3 separate regions of the Homo sapiens genome follow, and all the other regions are linked to region 3. The links are contacts of gene promoters, found by promoter capture Hi-C in blood cells and fetal thymus (Javierre and others, 2016). All regions are on one chromosome and are shown on one strand. The core of a region is centred on a gene start or on the middle of the fragment in contact, and the rest is flanking DNA. Distances in the headings are between cores, read along the strand shown. Region 1 overlaps SCN4A (sodium voltage-gated channel alpha subunit 4). Region 2 has its middle 44 kb from the start of TEX2. Region 3 holds the start of SNHG25 (small nucleolar RNA host gene 25).

What was found. The method cuts DNA at HindIII sites, captures the fragments that hold promoters and counts their contacts. A CHiCAGO score of 5 or more calls a contact.
Region 1: a contact is called between a fragment that was not itself captured here and the fragment with the promoter of SNHG25 in region 3, in 12 of 17 cell types (total B cells, naive CD8 T cells, naive CD4 T cells and 9 more). The highest score is 9.6, in total B cells.
Region 2: a fragment that was not itself captured here is called in contact with the fragment with the promoter of SNHG25 in region 3 in 7 of 17 cell types (endothelial precursors, megakaryocytes, M2 macrophages and 4 more); the score reaches 11.4 in endothelial precursors.

Annotation. Positions count from the first base shown.
Region 1 is chr17:63,949,822-63,954,563 of GRCh38, reverse strand. It overlaps SCN4A (sodium voltage-gated channel alpha subunit 4), which reads left to right. Exons shown (of 24, transcript NM_000334.4): 14 at 2,664-3,140. Among named protein-coding and RNA genes, the nearest start is that of CD79B, 20 kb to the right of the region's middle. RefSeq lists a silencer at 3,281-3,575, enhancers at 3,543-3,602, 4,704-4,742 and an insulator at 2,712-4,742. The HindIII fragment of the contact is 2,018 bases long and covers 1,947-3,964 here.
Region 2 is chr17:64,304,623-64,308,945 of GRCh38, reverse strand. It overlaps the pseudogene RPL31P57. Among named protein-coding and RNA genes, the nearest start is that of TEX2, 44 kb to the right of the region's middle. The HindIII fragment of the contact is 4,234 bases long and covers 1-3,678 here.
Region 3 is chr17:64,143,183-64,147,691 of GRCh38, reverse strand. SNHG25 (small nucleolar RNA host gene 25) reads right to left here and starts at 1,722. Exons shown (of 2, transcript NR_132278.1): 1 at 1,692-1,722; 2 at 1,383-1,462. It overlaps SNORD104 (small nucleolar RNA, C/D box 104), which reads right to left and starts at 1,614; the gene lies at 1,535-1,614. SNORA50C (small nucleolar RNA, H/ACA box 50C) reads right to left here and starts at 1,353; the gene lies at 1,221-1,353. TEX2 (testis expressed 2) reads left to right here. Exons shown (of 12, transcript NM_001288732.2): 12 at 1-465. RefSeq lists enhancers at 1,294-1,503, 1,481-2,035. The HindIII fragment of the contact is 1,672 bases long and covers 799-2,470 here.

The DNA.
Region 1 (4,742 bases), core at 1,706-4,205, 190 kb after region 3:
AGTGACTAGGTAACCCAAAGCACAGAACCCCCAGGGAAATTGATGTCGGCCCCCTCCCCTCCTCCCTTCCCCCATGCCTGGGGCAGCTATTTCTGTCTTGGGCAGGAGCCGTGTGCAAACCCTGCTGACCCAGAGAGCAGCTAATTCCCATCTCAGATGTGTTTCTGGCAACTGGATGCCTCCCCCCAGAGAGGGAGAAGAAAGACTAATGCGTTTTGGTGGGGGGCAAAGGCAGAAAAGCCTCTAGGGGACATGGCGGGGAGGAAGGGAGCCATGGAAATTCCCCTAGCACATTCTCTCAAAGAGCGTTTTCAGATAGTTTTTAAAGAGAGTATTTAACATGATTAACAGAATATAATCAACAGAATGTAGTGAAGACAATGACGAGAAGACCTTGGAGGAGGCTGGTGAGAGCCAGGAGTGAGACCCGCCGAGGAGACGGCCAAGGGTGGCGGATCTGCAAGTGCAGGCTCCCCAATTCCCCATGCCCTCTCACTCCCCCAGGGCTCCGAGGAAGAACCTGGCTATGCTTCTGGCTGATGGGAGCTGGGACCCTCACCCCAGCCAGGATTCTCCTTCCTCCCACTGCCCAGGGCCAGGCAGACTGGTAGAAGGAAGGGTGACCACATTAAAGACCTTCAGGGCTGCCATTCACCTTGTAGGCTAAGTGAAAGATGCCTTCTAAAGTTATACAATGACTAGAATCCTGGTTCGAGTCCTGGCTATGCTCTGTGTCCTAGAGCAGGCCACGCCACCTCTCTAGGACTCAGTTTACTCATCTATAAAATGCTGAGCTGGCCTCAGAGTTCACCACACTCTTCCTACACCTTGTATAACTTTCTTTCTTTCTTTCTTTTTCTTTTTCTTTTTTTTTTTTTCTTCAAGGCAGGGTCTCGCACTGTCACCCAGGCTGGAGTGCAGTGGGTGCAATCTGGGCTCACTGCAACCTCCGCCTCCCGGGTTCAAGTGATTCTCCTGCCTCAGCCTCCCAAGTAGCTGGGATTATAGGTGCACCACCACGCCCAGCTAATTTTTGTATTTTTAGTACATGGTTTCACCATGTTGGCCAGGCTGGAGCACCTTGTATAGCTTTCTATTATTTCAAACATAATAACAGCCAACATGCGTTGAGTGCCTACTGTGTGCTCTACTTGTATTGATGGGTTTTTTGTTTGTTTTTTGTTTTTTTGTTTTGTTTTGTTTTGAGATGGAGTCTCGCTCTGTCGCCCCGGCTGGAGTGCAATGGCGTGATCTCGACTCACTGCAACCTCCACCTCCCGGGTTCAAGCGATTCTCCTGCCTCAGCCTCCCAAGTAGTTAGGACTACAGGCGCATGCCACCACGCCCAGCTAACTTTTTGTATTTTTAGTAGAGACGGGGTTTCACCATGTTAGCCAGGATTGTCTTGATCTCCTGACCTCGTGATCCGCCTGCCCCAGCCTCCCAAAGTGCTGGGATTATAGGTGTGAGCCACTGCGCCTGGGCTTTTATTGATCCTTTAATCCTCACAACAATGGGAGGAACACTTGGATAATCTCCTTTTTACAGATGAGGAAACTGAGGCACAGGGCAGTGAGGCAAATTGCCTCAGAGCACACAGCTAATAAACTGGGGTTCAGAGCCCTGCAATGTGGTTTCAAAAGCTGTGCACTCCAGTCTCTGCTGCCACCCAAACCCACAGTATTGCATGTGATTGATCTGCTCTCTGTCTCTGCTGGTCTGTGAGCTCCCTGAGGCCATTCATGCAGTGACGGGGGCTCAGGAAATGTCTATCCACTGGAAAATAAAGTGGGTGGGGGTGCTGGGGGGGAGCAGCAGTAGCCTCCTAAGTCTTTCCGTAGGGATGTGGGACAAGAACCAGAATAGATGGAGTCGGAAACCCCAAGAGGAGAAAAGAGGGTAAATAGTAGGTCAGATGTCCCTTCCAGAGTAGCAGGGGCCAAGCTTCTGCACTCCAGGAGTGCGGGGTCTATAAAGTCCCACTTAACAGAGGTGGAGAAGAAGGCACAAAAGATAAAGGTTCCCAGTAAGTCCTGGAAGCTCGGCGACTTGAGCCCAGTTCTTTGTTCCGCATCCTCCAGAAGTGGAGGTAAAGGACAGTCATGGGCCAGGCACCGTGGTGATGCCTCTAATCCCAGCACTTTGGGAGGCCGAGGCAGGCGGATCACTTGAGGTCAGGAGTTTGAGACCAGCCTGGGCAACATGTTGAAACCCCGTCTCTACAAAAAATACAAAGATTAGCTGGGCATGGTGGCACTTGAACTTGGGAGGTGGAGGTTGCCGTGAGCCGAAATCGCGCCACAGCACTCCAGCCCGGAGTCTGGAGGCAACAGAGGGAGACTCCTCCATCTCGAAAAAAAAAAAAGAAAAAAAAGGACAGTCATGGAGAGAGTTCCTGTCCCCCAGCAGGCCTCCCTAAACCCTGCCTCTGCCCTGGGTAGCAGAGTCCTCTCAGAAGCCCAAGCCTCAGTTTCCCCATCTGCAGAAGGGATAATAACCATCACCTCCATGAGCAGTTGTGAACACCTCTTAGGTGGCGTTCTTTTAAATGCCCAACATGTGGTAGTTTGGATCTGTAGACCGAGGACCCCTGTGCTGGCTGAAGGTGGCACCCTCTGGGTCCCGGGGACTGATGTGAGGCTCCCCCTGACCCCATGCCCCAGGTCCTGAACCTGTTCCTGGCTCTGCTGCTGAGCTCCTTCAGCGCCGACAGTCTGGCAGCCTCGGATGAGGATGGCGAGATGAACAACCTGCAGATTGCCATCGGGCGCATCAAGTTGGGCATCGGCTTTGCCAAGGCCTTCCTCCTGGGGCTGCTGCATGGCAAGATCCTGAGCCCCAAGGACATCATGCTCAGCCTCGGGGAGGCTGACGGGGCCGGGGAGGCTGGAGAGGCGGGGGAGACTGCCCCCGAGGATGAGAAGAAGGAGCCGCCCGAGGAGGACCTGAAGAAGGACAATCACATCCTGAACCACATGGGCCTGGCTGACGGCCCCCCATCCAGCCTCGAGCTGGACCACCTTAACTTCATCAACAACCCCTACCTGACCATACAGGTGCCCATCGCCTCCGAGGAGTCCGACCTGGAGATGCCCACCGAGGAGGAAACCGACACTTTCTCAGAGCCTGAGGATAGCAAGGTGAGCCGGGGCTGGGGCTCAGACAGACCCGGCTTCAAATTCTCCTGTGACCTGGAGCAAGCCCTAAGTCCTCTCTGAGCCTCAGTTTCTCCAGCTGTAAAATGGGGGTGGTGCCCTATGGCATTGTTGCAAGCATTATGTGAGACGCTGTATGTAAAGCATGCAGTCCGCGCCCTGTGAGTGGTGGCAGTCACTATCGTTATTGATGTGGTTATTATGATCAACCCTGTCTGTCCAGAAACCCTGATTCCCTCGGACCAGAACACCTGGGCCCCTCTCACCAGCAGGTGGTGCCCTTGGACATGCTGCTTTTACCTGGGCACCGCAGCTCCAGGACCAGGACCTGAGAGGCCTCTCTTACATATTCTCCTCTGGGTTTGAGGCCCCTTGCCCAGTCCTCACACTTATCCTCTATCTCTGTTTAGACCCCACCTGGGTCTGCTCCCAACCTCCCAGTGTGGGCCAAAGTGCCAGATCCAGGCAGGGGATTCAGGAGAGGAGCTAGGGGCCAACGGGAGTTGAGGACAAGGAGGACAGAAGCCTCAGGCAGGAGCCCTGACCCCTCAGCCATGCAGGGGGTGTGCTGCTGGGCTCAGATGCCCCTCCCCACCCCTCCACTGCGAGGTCGAGGAAGGGACAGGAACGCAGCGGTGGTAACCCCCAGCAGCTGAGGCTGAGGCTGAGGCTGACCCTGCCTGGGTCTTGAGCCCCCTTCCCCACTGTCCAGCTCTGGCAGGGAAAGGACTCATACAGGAGCTAGGACGAGGGCCCCTGCCCACCCCTGCACCATCAGCCTGAGCCTAATGAACTTTGCCCTGAAAGCTTTTGACTCCTTATTCCCCCCAAATATGCTGGCTTACCAGGAAGCGAGTGCCTGTGAGCTATAAATACCCAGGCAACTGTGGCACAGACCTCGGTATGAGGCACTCAGGTGGCGGGGGAGCTGGAGAGCACCAAAGTCCCAGGCTCCCCGGGGCCGGGGCCGGGGCCTGGGGACTTGTTCAAGGAGGGCGAGCACAACTCCAAGGGAGATTTAGGGAGTTGAGTGCACAATCGGGGCAAGCAACTCAGTGGATGCCCTGGCTGACCTAACACTCTGTGCCTCAGTTTCCCTTTTAGTCTAATGAAAACAAGGACCCCCACCCCGGCCATGGTGGTTTTCTGGTCACCACTCTGGATACAGAGCTGCCCCCCAAGTTGCCCTCTTCTTCCTTCTCTTCAGAGGCCTCACCCTCAGCCTTGAAGGGGTCCCCTGCCGGGTGGAGTCTGGGGCCGGGAAGCTGGCCTGGCCCAGCAGGAGGAGGTGGGAGGAAGCCTGGCCCGGCTGGAGCACCCGCCTCCCCCACTCCCGCTCCCAACACTGATCAGGTTCCCTTGGCACTGGATGGAGGCTTTGGCTGGGGAACATTTTCCACCCTTTCTGGATTCCTCAGCCAAACAGACCCTGCGGGTGGGAAGGCTCAGACGCTAGGGGCACCACACGCCCATGTTCTGAGGGCTGTGATAGCCTGGCTCCATCCTGACCCCTTTTCATACCCCTGCCCCCTCAGAGCTACCTTCAGGCCCCCCATGCCTCCCAGACCCCCCACTCGGGCCGGGGTC
Region 2 (4,323 bases), core at 312-2,811, 160 kb before region 3:
ACACAAACAAAAAAGAAAGGTTTGAGCTAAGAACTTGCAGGAGACAAGGAAATTAGTCAAGCAGAAGGATATCTGGGGGAATGGCATGCGAGGCAGAAGGGAAAGCTAGGGTCGAGGCCCTCTGGGAAAGAAGCAAGGCCAAGGGGCTGGAGTAGAGGGAGGAAGAGGGGAAGTAGTGGAAGATGAGACTAGCTTTACTACTGATTATGATGTAAGAATAGTGGCCAATTTCCTTTCCAACTTGGGCCCGGCAGAATGGCTCCTGCAAAGAAGGGTGATGAGAAGAAGAAGGGTCATTCCGCCATCAACGAGATGGTGACCCGAGAATACCCCATCAACATTCATAAGTGCATTCATGGAGTGGGCTTCAAGAAGCGTTCCCCTCAGGCACTCAAAGAGCTCCGGAAACTTGCCCTGAAGGAGATGGGAACTCCAGATGCACACTTTGATACCAGGCTCAACAAAGCTGTCTGGGCCAAAGGAATAAGCAACGTCTCATACTGTATCCATGTTCGGTTGTCCAGAAAATGTAATGAAGATAAAGATTTACCAAACAAGCTCTATACTTCGGTTGCCTACGTACCTGTTACCACTTTAAAAAAATCTACAGTCGGTGTGAATGTGAACTAACTGCTAATCATCAAATATACCAAATAAAGTTATAAAATTGTTTTTTGTTTGTTTGTTTGTTTGTTTTTTGGGGGGGTGGGATAGAATCTTGCTCTGTCACCCAGGCTGGACCACAGTGGCGTGATTTTGGCTCACTGCAACCCCCACCTCCCGGGTTCAAGCAATTCTCCTACCTCAGCCTCCCTTGTAGCTGGGACTGCAGGCATGCACCACCATGCCCAGCTAATTTTGGTATCTTTAGTACAGATGGGGTTTCAGCACGTTGGCCAGGCTGGCCTCAAACTCCTGACCTCAAGTGATCTGTCCGCCTTGACCTCCTAAAGCGCTGGGATTAGAGGCATGAGCCACTGTGGGGGCCAAAATTGTTTAAATATATATATATATATATATATATATATATATATATATATATATATATATATATATAATAGTGGCCAGGCATGATGGCTCATGCCTGTAATCCCAGCACTTTGGGAGGTCAAGGCGCTTTGGGAGGGCAAGATGGGAGGATCCCTTGAGCCCAGGAGTTCGAGACCAGCCTGGGGAACATACAGAGATCCTGTCTCCAAAAAAATGTTTTAAATTAGCCAGGTGGAGTGGTGCATGCTTGTGATCCCAGCTACTCAGGAGGCTGAAGCAGGGGGATCACCTGAGCCTCAGGGGTCAAGGCTGCAGTGAGCCGTGATGGCTCCACTGCACTCCAGCCTGGGCAACAGAGTGAGATTTTGTCTCAAGAACAGAAGCCACTAATTGTAAATAGATTATAGTTCTTCATAGGCTTGTTCTAAACCCCTGCTACTCAAAGCGTGCTCTTCAAATCAGCAGCATCACAATCACTTGGCCATTGTTAGAAATGCAGAACCTTGGCCAGGACAACGGCTCATGCCTGTAATACCAGCACTTTGGGAGGCTGAGGTGGGAGGATCGCTTGAGCGCAGGAGTTTGAGGCTGCAGTCAGCCGTGATCACGCCACAGCACTCCAGCCTGGCTGGCAGAGTGAGACCCTGTCTCAAAAAAAAAAAAAAAGAAAGAATCTTGGGACCCATTACAGGTCTACGAAACTATAATCCTAATTAGCAAGATCCCCAGATTATGGAAAAGACACCACGTGCCTTTATAAATATATGGGCACTGCCAACATCATATGCTTTACCAAATAACAGCCTTAGTTGATTGAGACAAAACGAGTTTTCTTGCCTTAAGTTGCCCTTTCACAAGGGTTTTTGAGGACCAGGACCTACCAAGTGCGCCACCTGGTGGCAGCACAGATAAAATTTACACTCTAGGACCAAGATCACGTGTAGAATTCAAATAGCATAAAGTAATTATAGTTTTAACACAATTGGCTTGGACTTTTCAAAAATATCCATGTCAGAAAAGATCAAAATGGTCTGAAAAACTGCTCTAGATTAAAAGAGACCAAAGGGTCTGAACCGCTAAATGCAATCTGTTCAAAAAGCTATTCAAGGGCAGGCACGGTGGCTCATGTCTGTAATCCCAGCACTTTGGGAGGCCAAGGTGGGTGGATCACCTGAGGTCAGGAGTTTGAGACCAGTCTGACCAACATGGTGAAACCCTGTCTCTATTAAAAATACAAAAATTAGCCAGGCATGGTGACAGGCGCCTGTAATCCCAGCTACTCGGGAGACTAAGGCAGGAGAATTGCTTGAACCCAGGAGGCAGAGATTGCAGTGAGCCAAGATCGTGCCACTGCACTCTAGCCTGGGCAACAGAGCGAGACTCCATCTCAAAAAAAAAAAAAAAAAAAAAGCTAGTCAAGTACATAATTGGGCCAATTGGGAAAATTGAATATGGAATATATATCACAATATAGTATTAATGTTAAATTTCTTTCTTTCTTTTTTTTTGAAACAGTGTCTTGCTCTGTCATCCAGGCTGGAGTGCAGTGGCATGATGGTGGCTCACCGCAGCCTCAACCTCCTGGGCTCAAGCAATCTTTCCACCTCAGCCTCCGAGTAGCTGGGACCACAGGTGTGCGTCACCATGTCTGGCTAATTTTTTGTAAGTTTTGTACAGACAAAATTTCGCCATATTGCCCAGGCTGGTCTCAAACTCCTGGGTTCAAGTGATCCACCTGCCTCAGCCTCCCATAGTGCTGGGATTACAGGCATGAGCCACTGTGCTTAGCCTAATGTTAAATTTCTCAAGCATGGTAATATACTGTAATTATATAGAATGTCCTCATTCTTAGGGGATACATGGTGAAGTAATATTAGAAATATGATGCCTGCAACTAACTTTCAAAATATTTAGCAAACATTGAAATAATTTTTTTTTTTGAGAGGAAGTCTCACTCTGTTGCCCAGGCTGGAGTGCAGTGGTGTGTTCTCGGCTCACTGCAACGTCCGCCTCCTGGGTTCAAGCAATTCTCCTGCCTCAGCCTCCCGAGTAGCTGGGATTACAGGCGCGCACCACCATGCCTGGCTAAATTTGTATTTTTAGTAGAGACGGGGTTTCACCGTGTTGGTCAGGCTGGTCTTGAACTCCTGACCTCAAGTGATCCACCTGCCTCGGCCTCCCAAAGTGCTGGGATTATAGGCGTGAGCCATCGTGGCTGGCCAGAATAATTTTTTTGAGACAGGATCTCACTCTGTTGCCCAGGCTGGAGCACAGTGGTGAGATCTTGGCTCACTGCAATTTCAACCTCCCTGGCTCAAGTGATACTCCCACCTCAGCCTCCTGAGTAGCGGGTCCACAGGCACATACCACCATGCCTGGCTACTTTTTGTATTTTTTATAGAGACAGGGTTTCGCCCAGGCTGCCCAGGCTGGTCTCGAACTCCTGGCCTCAAGTGATCTGCCTACCTTGGGCTCCCAAAGTGTTGGAATTATAGCCATGAGCCACCACACCCAGCCAAAAATTAAAATAATTTTTAAAAAATGTTTGCGTGTGTGTGTGTATGTGTGTGTGTACAAACACAGAGGAGGAGAGATAAAGCAAATGGGCAAAATGCTAGCAACAAATGAATCTAGGTGAAGGATATACAAGTGTTCATTGTACTATTTCTTGTAACTTTTCTGAAAGCTTGAAATTTTCAAAATTAAAAAAAGGAGGCGGGCACAGTGGCTCACACCTGTGATCCCAACACTTTGGGAGGCTGAGGCAGGCGGATTACCTAAGGTCAGGAGTTGGAGACCAGCCTGGCCAACATGGTGAAACCCCATCTCTACTAAAAATACAAAAATTAGCAGAGTATGGTGGTGGGCACCTGTAATCCCAGCTACTCAAGAGGCTGAGGCATGAGAATCGCTTGAACCCAGGAGGCGGAGGTTGCAGTGAGCCGAGATCACACCACTGCACTCCAGCCTGGGCGACAGAGCAAGACTCAGTCTCAAAAAAAAAGAAGGGAGTATCACTTTTGGATACACTTTAAGTTGCAAGGAACTACTTAAGAAGGAGCCCTAGGATGTGTGGATCAGGCAGAAACAGCTGAAGTAAACTTGAATCCCAACTCAACGCTTATCTCTGTTTCTCTGGCTTATTGTTCTTGAGAGGTTAAAGATCAAACCTGTGAGTAGATAGAAAACTGAAGAGTTGATGTCCTACCTCTCTGGGCTGTGGAAGGAATGGAGGTGGGAAATCAGACACCTGTTTAAAAACAGAAAGGGCCGGGTGTGCTGGCATTTGCCTATAATCCCAGATGCTTGGGAGGCTGAGGCAGGACAATCACT
Region 3 (4,509 bases), core at 473-2,972:
TTAAATTGTTTGACCATTCCAGTTGGTGTACTGTTCTGATTTTTCGTTGTGTAGGCCGATCTGCCTGTCAGAGTCCACGTGTCCTGGTCACTGGTCTTTATAATTGTTGTGCAATAACTAAAGGCTAAGGACTAGATGCACTATCGTGTAAAGAGATTACACATGACTGTACCATGTTGCACTTAATCAAATAGTATGTGGGGATTTAAAATCGCTTGCATTGTTTCACAAAATAAATATCTCAATGTCAAATACTAGATAAGCATCTAAGTCATTTCTACGGAATCCTGTTCAGATAGGGGCACAATAAAATGAGTACAGAGCACCGGGGCCCTCACCTGGCAATCGCAGCTTTCATTTACTGCGTTGATCACTGCCCAGTCCTAAGGCTACAAAGCCATCCTCACTACATCCTTCAAACTATGTGCCATTATCTTCAGCCCACATTTAAAGAATCCAGTGAAAGTTCGTAACTGAGGGGGTAGGGCAGTGGTGCTCCTGGGCTGCAGTTTACACCCTTCATTGTCTAGTATAATGTTAATTCGGGACACCTTCATTCATCGAATGTCCATGTAGTGAACGCATACGTGCATCCTTGCCCACCATTGCTGCCCTGTACTCAGAACTGATGCACCTTTCACTGGAGCCCTTGTGGAAGATCTTTTACCAATCACTGAATCTGGACTGTGTAACTAGGTGTCTATGTTGTCCCCAACCATATATAAAATCTAATTCACCTTCACAACCGCCCTATAATTTTGAACTGTTTAGGAGTGACAGATTAACCTGCCCAAAGCTTTAGTCCCATGCTTGTCAGTACTCCTGCATGGTTATTTGTAAACAGGTCGATTACCCTTTAGTCAGGAGTTAACTCAATGCAGTTCCACACCGAATCTGTTTATGTCAAGTACACAACAGCCCTGCAGACGCCATTCCACGCTGCCTTCAACTAAATCTGCGCGTCTGATGGCAGACGCGACAGCCTGGGACTTATGTCGAACTCACGGCGAAGGCACAGCGCGCGCGATACACTCAGGGAAGGCTGGGCTGGGGAACGTATGGGAGCAGAGGGGCACTCCTTACGCATCAAGAGTCCGCGTATCCCCGTCAGCCACCGCCCCCCTAACACGCCATTCCAGCCTTGGTATTACGGATTGAGGCCTGTCGTGGCAAAACAGCTGGAAAATTGCCCAGCCTAGCAGCCGGACAGTCAGGTTACTTCTTGTCGCTCGCGGTTAAAAAGGCCGCCCGCGGGAGGCCAGGCGGCCCCAGTTATGCGCAAGCACATGCTCTAGCGCTGCAGATTGACCCCCGGCGCCACGAGGAAGCTCGGCGGGGGCTCAAAGACAGCGCGTCGCCAACGACACACACCGACACCAGGGTTGGGTTCAAACCACTTTATTGACGGGAATGGGGTGGCAAAGCAGCAAGGACGATGACATCCGACGTCCTCGGCTGGGAGCTACAAGAACGAGAGTGATAGATCAGCGGGTGTGCGCGCGCCCGCCCGCCAGCCCCCTCCCAGCTCCGCTCGGGCAGGCTCAGACTCCAGTTCGCATCACCCGCGTCAGCAGTCTAACACGTGCTTTAATTGGAATGTCATCACAGCAGGCCGGCCCCCCTACGCCTCCCTGCTCCCGAGCCACGACCTCCGGGGCCCACCCAGCCAGACGACCCGCCAGGAATACAACCTGACCTCCCGGAACCTGCAGGCGCTGAAAGACAGGGGAGCGTCGATGGCGTTCTTTTAAAGGAGCAGACCAGCGCTGATGGGCGGGCTTTACTGCCATTAACCAATAGCAAGTTCACCTTGCGACCACGTGCGCGTAAAGTTGTCTGGTGACTGGTAGTCCTTGCTGAGTCCTCCAGAGGATAGATGGGTCACATACCAACCATAGAGATGGGAGTCGCTCAGTCTCAAATCCATTTGCGTTTCAGCGACTCCACCGCCAGCTGGTAATGAGCGCATCTCTCCGCAGTACGCAAAAGAAAACTTCACCAAGAGCAGGCGACGATGATGCCTAACTTGGATGACATGTTCTGTGCCAGGAGCTAGGATAGGAGTTGAGAATGGAAAGTTAAAAACTGTCCCCAAGTGCAAAATAACCTGTCGTGGTAGAAAGAGCTTGTATTGAAAATGGACCGATCTGCACCACATCCTGACTTTGTGATGCGTTCGCTCTGTGACCTTGCTCAGTTAACCTTTCTGAGATTCAGTTTCTGGAAATTAGGAATACCCCCCCGCCGCCCCCCCCCAACACACACACACCGCGAAAAAAAAAAATTGTAAGGATTCGGTGAATTAATGCCAATTGCCTGGCACATTCTAAGTGGTAAACAAAGGTATTTAAAGGGCAGAGTGATGTGAAAAACTTCCTGGGATTGCAAAACTTTAATAAATACTAACATAGCGCTATGAACAGCCTACTGTAGAAGCCCAAAGGACAGAAAGCCTGACTTTGGGAAAGCTTCGCAGAGTTGATTGAGCCTGTTCCCCGGACATACAGGTGGATGAATGATAGTTTGCTTAACTGGGGGAGGACACAGTACACCAGCAGTCACAGTCGCCGGTTATCTTTATTGCCTCCCTGTTTTCCTTGGGAATTCTTTTCCTTTTTTTCCTCTTAATACGGAAAATTTATTGTTTTGTGTGTGTGTGTGTATGTGACAGTGAAATCATTTCACCCTATGGGTTTGTAGTTGAATGGGCTCTTATTTTCCTTATTTTCTATATAGACTTTAAATTCAAAAAATTCCTCTTTGGCCGGGCGCGGTGGCTCACGCCTGTAATCCCAGCACTCTGGGAGACGGAGGCGGATGGATCAGGTCAGGAGTTCAAGAACAGCCTGGCCAACATGGCGAAACCCTGTCTCTACTAAAAATACAAAAATTAGCCGGGCGTGGTGGCAGGCCCCTGTAATCCCAGCTACTCAGGAGGTTGAGGCAGGAGAATCGCTTGAACCCGGGAGGCGGAGGTTGCAATGAGCTGAGATCGCGCCATTACACTCTAACCTGAGCAACAGAGCGAGACTCCATCTCAAAAAAAAAAAAAAAAACCTCTTTAATCCAAAGCAATAATGACTTTGACAAGTGTTTAGTAGTCTCTATTTATTTTTGTTGCTGTTTTAACTTTCGTTATCTCAACATTTATTACATTATGGTACAGTTTCCGCATTGGGCAATGTATGAAAGTTTTCTTTGTGACCTAAAATATCAGTTTTTATAAGTGTTCCACAGATTGTTGAAACGAAGATGTTTTCACTATCAAGTACAAACATGGTATAAAATATTTATTTATTAATTCAACCTTAGTTGTGTTGTAATTACATTGTCCACAGCTCTGCTTTGTGTATTATGTACTTGCTTGGAAGTTGGCTGTTGGCTTTGATTGTGATGTGTTAAGATTATGCCTCAAATACCAAATGCCAGTGAGGATGTGGAGCAACAGAAGCTTTGCTCCATTACTTGTTTCGTTTTGTTTTTTGAGACAGTCTCACTCTGTTGCCCAGGCTGGAGTGCGGTGGCACAATCTTGGCTTACTGCAACCTCCGCCTCCCGACTTCAAGCAATTCTCCTGCGTCAGCCTCCCCAGTAGCTGGAATTACAGGCATGCACAACCATGCCTGGCTAATTTTTGTATTTTTAGTAGAGATGGGGTTTTACCATATTGGCCAGGCTGGTCTCAAACTCCTGACCTCATGATCCTCCCGCCTCAGCGTCCCAAAGTGCTGGGATTACAGGCGTGAGCCGCCGCGCCCGGCCTGCTCTTTTCTTTTCTTCTCCTCTTCTCTTTTCTTTTCTTTTCTTTTTTGAGACAGAGTCTGGCTCTGTCGCCCAGGCTGGAGTACAGTGGCACTATCTTGGCTCACTGCAACCTCTGCCACCCGGGTTCAAGCGACTCTGCTGCCTCAGCCTCCCTAGTGCTGGGACTACAGGCACGGACCACCATGCCCGGCTAATTTTTGTATTTTTAGTAGAGACGGGGTTTCACCATGTTGGCCAGGCTGGTCTTGAACTCCTGACCTCAAGTGATCCACCCGCCTCAGCCTCCCAAAGTGCTGGGATTACAGGCATGAGCCACCGTGCCTGGCCTGCTTTTTTATTTTCTTGACAGTGTCTTTCAAAGAGGAGACATTTTTAATTTTGATGAAAATCTAATTTATCAATTTTTTAATAGACAGTACTTCTGGTTTCATATCTAAGAAATCTTGGCCTAATACAGATTTTTCTTTTATATGGTTTCTTCTAGAAGTTTAATTTAATTTAATTTAATTAATTAATTAATTTATTGAGACGAAGTCTCGCTCTGTCACCAGGCTGGAGTGCAGTGGTGCGATCTCAGCTCACTACAACCTCTGTCTCCCAGGTTCAAGTGATTCTCTTGCCCCAGCCTCCCGAGTAGCTGGGATTACAGGCGCACGCCACCATGCCTGGCTAATTTTTGTATTTTTAGTAGAGATGGGGTTTCACCATGTTGGCCAGGATGATCTCAATGTCTTGACCTCGTGT